2 separate regions of the Homo sapiens genome follow, and region 1 is linked to region 2. Evidence: promoter capture Hi-C in 16 types of primary human blood cells and fetal thymus (Javierre and others, 2016). All regions are on one chromosome and are shown on one strand. Each heading gives the region's core, a stretch centred on a gene start or on the middle of the fragment in contact. The rest is flanking DNA. Distances are from core to core; before and after follow the strand shown.

Evidence for each region. The method cuts DNA at HindIII sites, captures the fragments that hold promoters and counts their contacts. A CHiCAGO score of 5 or more calls a contact.
Region 1: a fragment that was not itself captured here is called in contact with the fragment with the promoter of LURAP1 in region 2 in 2 of 17 cell types (M0 macrophages and M1 macrophages); the score reaches 6.2 in M0 macrophages.

Annotation. Positions count from the first base shown.
Region 1 is chr1:45,609,607-45,613,672 of GRCh38, forward strand. NASP (nuclear autoantigenic sperm protein) reads left to right here. Exons shown (of 15, transcript NM_002482.4): 7 at 3,563-3,642. Among named protein-coding and RNA genes, the nearest start is that of CCDC17, 12 kb to the right of the region's middle. The HindIII fragment of the contact is 216 bases long and covers 2,585-2,800 here.
Region 2 is chr1:46,201,270-46,205,123 of GRCh38, forward strand. It overlaps LURAP1 (leucine rich adaptor protein 1), which reads left to right and starts at 2,065. Exons shown (of 2, transcript NM_001013615.3): 1 at 2,065-2,355. The coding sequence starts at 2,158. It also overlaps a transcript of POMGNT1 not described here. RefSeq lists a silencer at 1,986-2,105. The HindIII fragment of the contact is 3,345 bases long and covers 1,541-3,854 here.

The sequences.
Region 1 (4,066 bases), core at 1,443-3,942, 590 kb before region 2:
CTTGAATGGTAAGCTACAATACAGATATCACAGTCCCTTACAGATTGTTCGAAAACTCGTTGGATCATAATTAACATTGTTAGAACTCTCATACATTACATCTGATCCTAAAACAATACTATGTGATAGGTAGTATTGCCCAAGTTACAGTGATGAGGTTGAGGTTTAAAGGTTACATGACTTGTTTAGGGTCATAATACTGAATCTGAACCCAGATCTGCCTTGAATATATTATTCTTCCCAAGTTACCACACATTGAAGAAGACAGTGTTCATCCTTTTCCTACACCCACTGCTTAGAAATTTTGTCGTGGGCTGGGCGCAGTAGCTTCACACCTGTATCCCAGCACTTTGAGAGGCCGAGGTGGGCAGATCACATGGTCAGAAGTTTGAGACCAGCCTGGCCAATATGTTGAAACTTTGACTCTACTAAAAATACAAAAATTAGCTGGACGTGGTGGCATGCGCCTGTGGTCCCAGCTACTTGGGAGGCTGAACCAGAAGAATCGCTTGAACCCGGGAGGCAGAGGTTGCAGTGAGCTGAGATCATGCCGCTGTGCTCCAGCCTGGGCAACACAGCGAGTCTCTGTCTTCCAAAAGAAAAAAAAAATCTGTCACTTATTTAAAAAGTTAACTATATTTTAAAAGCCCCAGGCTTTTCATATGCTGCATTTTTTGGTGTTGTATATCAGATACTGTTCTGCTTGTAAAGACAATACAGTTTTCCATATTTTACAAAAGAAGAAATGGGAGAAAGGGGTTTAAGTAACTTGCCCTAGTCACACAGTAAGGAGAAGCCTGCTACCCAAACTTCTGGCTTGAGTACTCAACCACTTACTTTCTGTGCTTTATTTCCCTTTACGTGGCAGCACCATTCTGCAGAAAACTTCCAAGCAGTTTTTTTCACTTAAAAATTAAAACCCTGTTTACTGCCACCTCTTGACTCTTTGCCATGTGTTGGGCTGTACATTTGCTTCTAATAAAGATAATTGGTCTGTTCTTTTTCTCTTTGAATCGGGTCTTGCTCTTTTGCCAGGCTGGAGTACAGTGGCATCGCAGTCATGGCTCACGACAGCCTCAAACTCCTATGCTGAAGCCATCTTCCTCCCTCAGTCTCTCAGGCAGCTGAGACTATGGGTGTGTATCACCATGCCCAGCTGGGGTGCAGTGGTGCGGTCTCGCTCACTGCAACCTGCATCTCCCAGGTTCAAGCGATTCTCCTACGTCAGCCTCCTGAGTAGCTGGGACTAAAGGCACATGTCCCCAGGCCCGACTAATTTTTTTGTATTTTTACTAGAGATGGGATTTCACCATGCTGGCCAGGTTGGTCTCGAACTCCTGACCTCAGGTGATCCACTAGCCTCAGCCTCCCAGAGTGCTGGGATTACAGGTGTGAACCATTGCACCTGGCCCACCATACACCATTATCTTCTCATATCCACATTTCCAAGTGGGTCCGGGCTTAGTTCCCCAAAGTTAGACCAGATGGATGGTCTTATTAACTCTGCCCATCCTCTAGCAGAATATGCAGAAAAGCTGAAGTAGATTTACATATGTAGGATAATTGATAGAAAAGTAAATACTTCATCTTCCCAATTTGTAGGAAAAATTAAATTGATATTGTTATCTTCTATTCTTACCTGGTATCTCTTCCTACTCATACCAGAATACTAGAAGACAACCTCTAATTTGAAACAAAATATCTTAATTACTTGGAAGTTTTACATCAAATTTTTAAATTAAAATTCCTATAATTGCTTCAGAAGAATATTACTGGTTCCTCTTGAGGAATCTGTACCATCTTCAAGGAATGGTGGGGAGCTAGGTTAAGGAGAAAGCCATCGCCATTACTTTTTTTTTTTTTTTTTTTTTTTTTTTTGAGACAGAGTCTTGCTCTGTCACCCAGGCTGGAATGCAGTGGCGTGATCTAGGCTCACTGCAACCTCCGCCTCCTAGGTTCAAGTGATTGTTCTGCCTCCGCCTCCCGAGTAGCTGGGACTACAGGCATGTGCCACCACGCCTGGCTAATTTTTTGTATTTTTAGTAGAGACGGGGTTTCACCGTGTTAGCCAGGATGGTCCCAATCTCCTGACCTGGTGATCTGCCCACCTTGGCCTCCCAAAGTGCTAGGATTACAGGTGTGAGCCACCGCGCCTGGCAGCCATTGCCATTACTTTAAAACCTTTCCCAACTTGTGCCCAGGTATCAATGGCAATGCCCTGATGTCCTCAGTAAATTTGTTAAAGTATCTTTTTTTTTTTTTTTTTTTTTTGAGACGGAGTCTTGCTCTGTCACCCAGGCTGGAGTGCAGTGGTGCGATAATCCGCTCACTGCAAGCTCCACCTCCTGGGTTCACGCCATGCTCCTGCCTCAGCCTCCCAAGTAGCTGGGACTACATGCGCCTGCCACCACACCTGGCTAATTTTTTTGTTTTTTGGTTTTTTTTTTTAGTAGAGACGGGGTTTCACCATGTTCGCCAGGATGGTCTCAATCTCCTGACCTCGTGATCCGCCCGCCTCGGCCTCCCAAAGAGCTGGGATTACAGGCGTGAGTCACCGCGCCTGACCCTGTTAAAGTATTTTCTAAGCTTCTTTGAAAACGGAATCTCTTTGTGGTTGCTGCTGATAAAACTCCTTTGACCTGACGATTGCTCTAAGTCCTAATTGCCATATTTATATTCCCATAGTAAGAGTGTTTGGAGATAGTGTTTGAGCTTTTTTGCTGGTGTTAAAAATGCATAATGAAAGATGGCAGAGAGAGGCATATTATATCCAATTCATGAGTTGTTTGTGTTAACAGAAAGCTTATTTTAATCACTTAACATTGTTGATTTGTCTAATCACAGTAGCGCTATTGATTAGGAGCCTGACCTTTAGATGGTTGACTTGTGAGTGTATTCAATATGGTGAAATATGGTGTTGATATATGGCTGCAGATTTTAGAGGTGTCATTAGCAAAGGTATAGGAGTAAAATAGGGGTTATAGTATTCCTTACTCAAATTCTGTATGTGCTAGAGCTGGCTGGAGTCTGTGGCATGCTCATTGGTGTAAGTCGGTAAGGACTATGCTTTTTGCTCCACATCTCTGTTGTGGGAAAGCTAGTCTCTTGAGCATTCTTGATCAGAATGGACTGGAATAATTTAACTTTCGTACTTTCCCAGGCTATTAGTATTATCTAATGAGTGGCTTAAAGATACCAGAAACACTGACTGAGGTCTCCACCTGCTTCTGGCTGAATGAATGGGAGCTTCTAGCCATTGAATAAGAGGCAGTAGCCAATGTTTCTTATTCTGAATGGTCCAGGTTGACTTTTATAAGAGAAACACTCAGCCTTTTAATTGCTGAAGGTCTGACCCATAGACTAAGATTGCACATTCTTAGTCTAGGTTACACTTGAACTAGACTGCACCCACTGACGATATATTCAGTTCAGGTGTTAACTCACTTGGATTAGCATCTGGCCTGTCCTATCTGAATATAGGTTGAGACGTGTATTGGAATCTCTGACTAGTCAGAATACGTTCTTAGTTATATTCTCAATACTGAGGAATTTTTACTTGTAGAAACTGAAGGCTCAGAAGAGGATGATAAAGAAAATGATAAGACCGAAGAAATGCCAAATGATTCAGTCCTTGAAAACAAGGTATGTTGTTAGCCACTCAGTACTGTTGTCAGCCTTTTTCTGTTTTTGGGAGACTGGAGCTCACTCTTGTTGCCTAGGCTGGATTGCAGTGGGGTGATCATGATCATGGCTCACTGCAGCCTAGACCCGGGCTTAAGTGATCGCCTCACCTCAGCCTCTCAAGTAGCTGGGACTACAGGCTTGTGCCAACATGCCCAGCTAGTTTGCAGGACTGTAGCTTACCTAGTTTAGGCACGATTATTATTTTTTTAAGAGATAGAATCTCTGTCTCTGCCCAGGCCGGAGTGCACTGGCATGATCAGGGCTCACTGTATCTTTAGCCTCCTGGGTTCAAGGAATCCTTCTGCCTCATCTTCTCAGATAGCTAGGTCTCCAGATGTCTGCCACCATGTCTGGCTAATTTGTTCTCTAATTTTATTTTGTT
Region 2 (3,854 bases), core at 815-3,314:
GGGAGGCTAAGGTGGGAGGATTGCTTGAGGCCAGGAGTTCGAGACCAGCCTGGGCAACATAGCGAGACTCTATCTAAATTTTAAAAAAAGTTAATTACAAAGGTAACCTTAGATGAACTAAAAAGAGTGATAGAAATATGTAGTGCCAGGCCGGGCGCAGTGGCTCACACCTGTAATCCCAGCACTTTGGGAGGCTGAGGCAGGCAGATCACGAGGTCAAGAGTTCGAGACCAGCCTGACCAACATGGTGAAACCCCCGTCTCTACTAAAAATACAAAAATTAGTCGGGCATGGTGGCACGTGCCTGTAATCCCAGCTACTCAGGAGGCTGAGGCAGGAGAATCGCTTGAACCCAGGAGGGCAGGTTGCAGTGAGTCAAGATCGTGCCACTGCACTCCAGCCTGGGCGACAGAGTGAGACTCCATCTCAAAAAAAAAAAAAAAAAGAAAAAAGAAAGAAAAGAAAAGAAATATATATTGCCAATGGGGGAAAGGAACTACAGAGTGTGAGTTAAACCCATATATCCATATTTATCTGAATAGGACAATAAACAGCAGATGAATGTTTAAAATTGAGAAGTAGTGTGGCTGGGCATGGTGGCATACTCCTGTAGTCACAGCTGCTTGGGAGGCAGGAGGATTGCTTGAGCCCAGGAGTTTGAGTCCAGCCTGGGCAATGTAGGAAGACCCTGTCTCTAAAAAAGAAAAAATAGTGGTAGGATTTACAATAAGAGGATAGTTACTCCTACCCTACCCTTTCACACCTCTAGGCCCACTCCCAATTGGCAACCACTTTTAGTTAACTCTAAACAATAACGTTATGGGTATGAACACCAAAAGAAAAAAAAAAACTAAAAGTTATTTTTTGCCAATTGGGAGTGGGCCTAGAGGTGTGAAAGGGTAGGGTAGGGGTAACTATCTTCTCATTGTAAATCCTTCTGCAACCATGGGCTGGAATTACTTGAATTAAAAGCCTAAACAAACCAGAGTTTTCATGGCTGTTCATTACCTGTTAAATAAAACCCAAACATCTCAGAACCATTTTCTGTAACCTTGTTACTCAAAGTGTGGTCCCTTATTACTTGAAGTGTGGACCAGCAGCATGGCCATCACCTGGGAGCTTATTAGAAATGCAGGATCTTGGCTGGGCGCAGTGGCTCACACCTGTAATCCCAGCACTTTGGGAGGCCAAGGCAGGCGGATCACTTGAAGTCAGGAGTTCAAGACCAGCCTGGCCAACATGGTGAAACCCTGTCTCTACTAAAAATACAAAAATATTAGCTGGGCATGGTGGCGCATGCCTGTAATCCCAGCTACTCAGGAGGCAGAGGCAGGAGAATTGCTTGAACCCAGGGAGGCAGAGGTTTGTAGTGAGCCAAGATCGCGCCACCACGCTACATCCTGGGCGACAGAGCGAGACTCTGTCTCAAAAAAAAAAAAAAAAAAAAAAAAAAAATGCAGGATCTCAAGCCCCACCCCAGATTTACAAAATCAGAACCTACATTTTAACAAGATCCGCAGATAATTCATACGCACAGTCAAGCTTAAGGAGCATCTTGCTTGTAAGCCCAACGTGGACCTCTTCAGCTTCAGTACTGGTTGCCCTTTTCTACTCCGTTAGCCTGAATTCTAGCCCCTGGGGGGGGGGGGTGGTGTGTGTGTGTGTGTGTGTGTGTGTGTGTGTGTGTGTCTAGCTAAAATCCAGTCATCGTTTTATACCCAATTCCTCTGCTCCAGGAAGACTTCCAAGCCCTCTGCAGCTCTCTGTTACCGCTGTTCCTTAAACTCCCACATCTCTGACTGAAGCTGCTTAGACTTCATTCTGCAAACATGTATTGGGCGCCTGCTGTGTGCCTGGCTGGATTCAGTGCCAGGGTGGGGCGAAGGCGCTGAGGTCTCCGAGTGCTCTTTCAGGTCCAACTCCAGAATCGCCCAGCCCCACGCAATCCAGGGCCAGAGGTTGTGTGCGCAGCACTCGAATACATCCACAGACGGTGCTGCGCGGCTTTTCTGAGTGTTACGGCGCCCTCCTCCCGCCCCCGCGCCGCGCGGGCGGGGACCCACCGGTTTTGCTCCGCTTTAGCAGCGGCGAAGGGAGGACCCCCGGGAGCCGGTCCCCGGCGTCCGGTCGCCCAGCCCTTTTCAGGCTTGGGCCCGCATGGAGGGGACCGTGGAGTCCCAGACGCCTGACCTGCGGGATGTGGAGGGTAAGGTGGGCAGGAAGACCCCTGAAGGGCTGCTCCGCGGGCTGCGAGGCGAGTGTGAGCTGGGAACCTCTGGCGCCCTGCTGCTCCCAGGGGCGTCTAGCACCGGCCACGACTTGGGGGACAAGATCATGGCGCTGAAGATGGAGCTGGTGAGTGCTGAATCCATGGGCCAAGGGGACGAGTCCCTAGTGTAGGGCCGGGAGGGACGAACTCATGCTCCCAGAGTTAAGCTGGAGAGGAGGTAGTTAAAACTCTCCACCTAACTGCTCAGAATCCCTCCCAGATCAATCCGTAAACGCTGGGGTGGAGATGGAGTGACGTCCATTACTTGTCCCCCAAGAGTGAGTGGGGTGTTGATGGTCCTGAGGACTTGGGTTGGGAGCAGTGGGTTTTGGAAGTTATTCCTGCCAAATAATTGGGAGGAGAGAGATGAGGACTGGGAAGTACTGAGAACCCAACGCAGCACAAATTCCCCCCGCCTGTATGGGCCACCTATTCCCCGCCAGTCCCCGTTGTAAGGCAACCGGTTTTTTCTCCTTCTGCTAACCGGGAAAGGGTTTAAGTTCCTGTGAGGCCGCAGTGTTCCGCACAGAAAAGAAGTGGGTAAAGGGGCCTATCTGCTGAAAACTACCTGGACCAGGGGCACTGAAAACCTTCTCCGTTTCCTCTACATCCCCCAGCCCTACTTAAAATAATGGAAAGTTCCTAGACCCATAGCAGGGACAGAGAGTAGCAGCACCACTGGTGCTGATTCCCTCGCCTCAGACTCAGTCTCCTCCCAGCCAGTCTTCCAGGTAAACTGGATATTTGGATCTCATCTGTACATTCTTGGGGAGAAGAGGAAACAGCAACCCTCCCCTTTCTCTATTGCTGCTGGTCTAGATTCAGAGCCAAAAGGGCAGCCGAGGCCCTGGCAGGTTCCCCAGGGCCCTGATTCCGGTGAAGTGGGTGATTTACACCTGCCACTACTTTGCAGCCAGTTCTGGGGAACTGAGGAATTGCCATCGGCTTCCTGGCTCACAACCAGGAGCCCACAGTGAGTACGTCAGCTAAAGTCTTCCTGTGTGCCCAGCCTGTGCCAAGCTGGTCTGTGAAGGAGAAGGGGAAGGAAATCATGGGGGCTCTGAGACCAGCCAGGGCTCCGACGCCTGAGCTGAGAGGCTGGGAAGAGAGTCTGGTGGGTGGAGCAGTCAGGAAAGGCCCCCTGGGAGAAGGACTTGAATGCCAAGTGTGCACTTGGCCTTGAAGGTTGGAGGTGAGTGCCCAATTCTCCAGAGCAAGGCTGTGACTGTACCCACCTAAGCGGGGGCTTGCCTTTGCCTCACTGTACAAACTTTAGCTCAAGGCCTAGTAAGAGCCTATCTAGACTGTCTACTTGCTTTGAAAACTTTCACCCAGTGCATGTGCCAGGCAGCTTGCTGAGCACTTTACATGATGCTCTCTTCATCTCCACAGTAACCCTGTTAAGTGATATTTTATAGATGGAGAAACTGAGGCACAGGGTGGGCATGGTGGCTCACGCCTGTAATCCCAGCACTTTGGGAGGCCGAGGCAGGCAGATCGCTTGAGCCCAGGAGTTTGAGACCAGCCTGGGCAACAAAGCAAGACCCTGTCTCTACAAAAAATACAAAAATTAGATGGGTGTTGT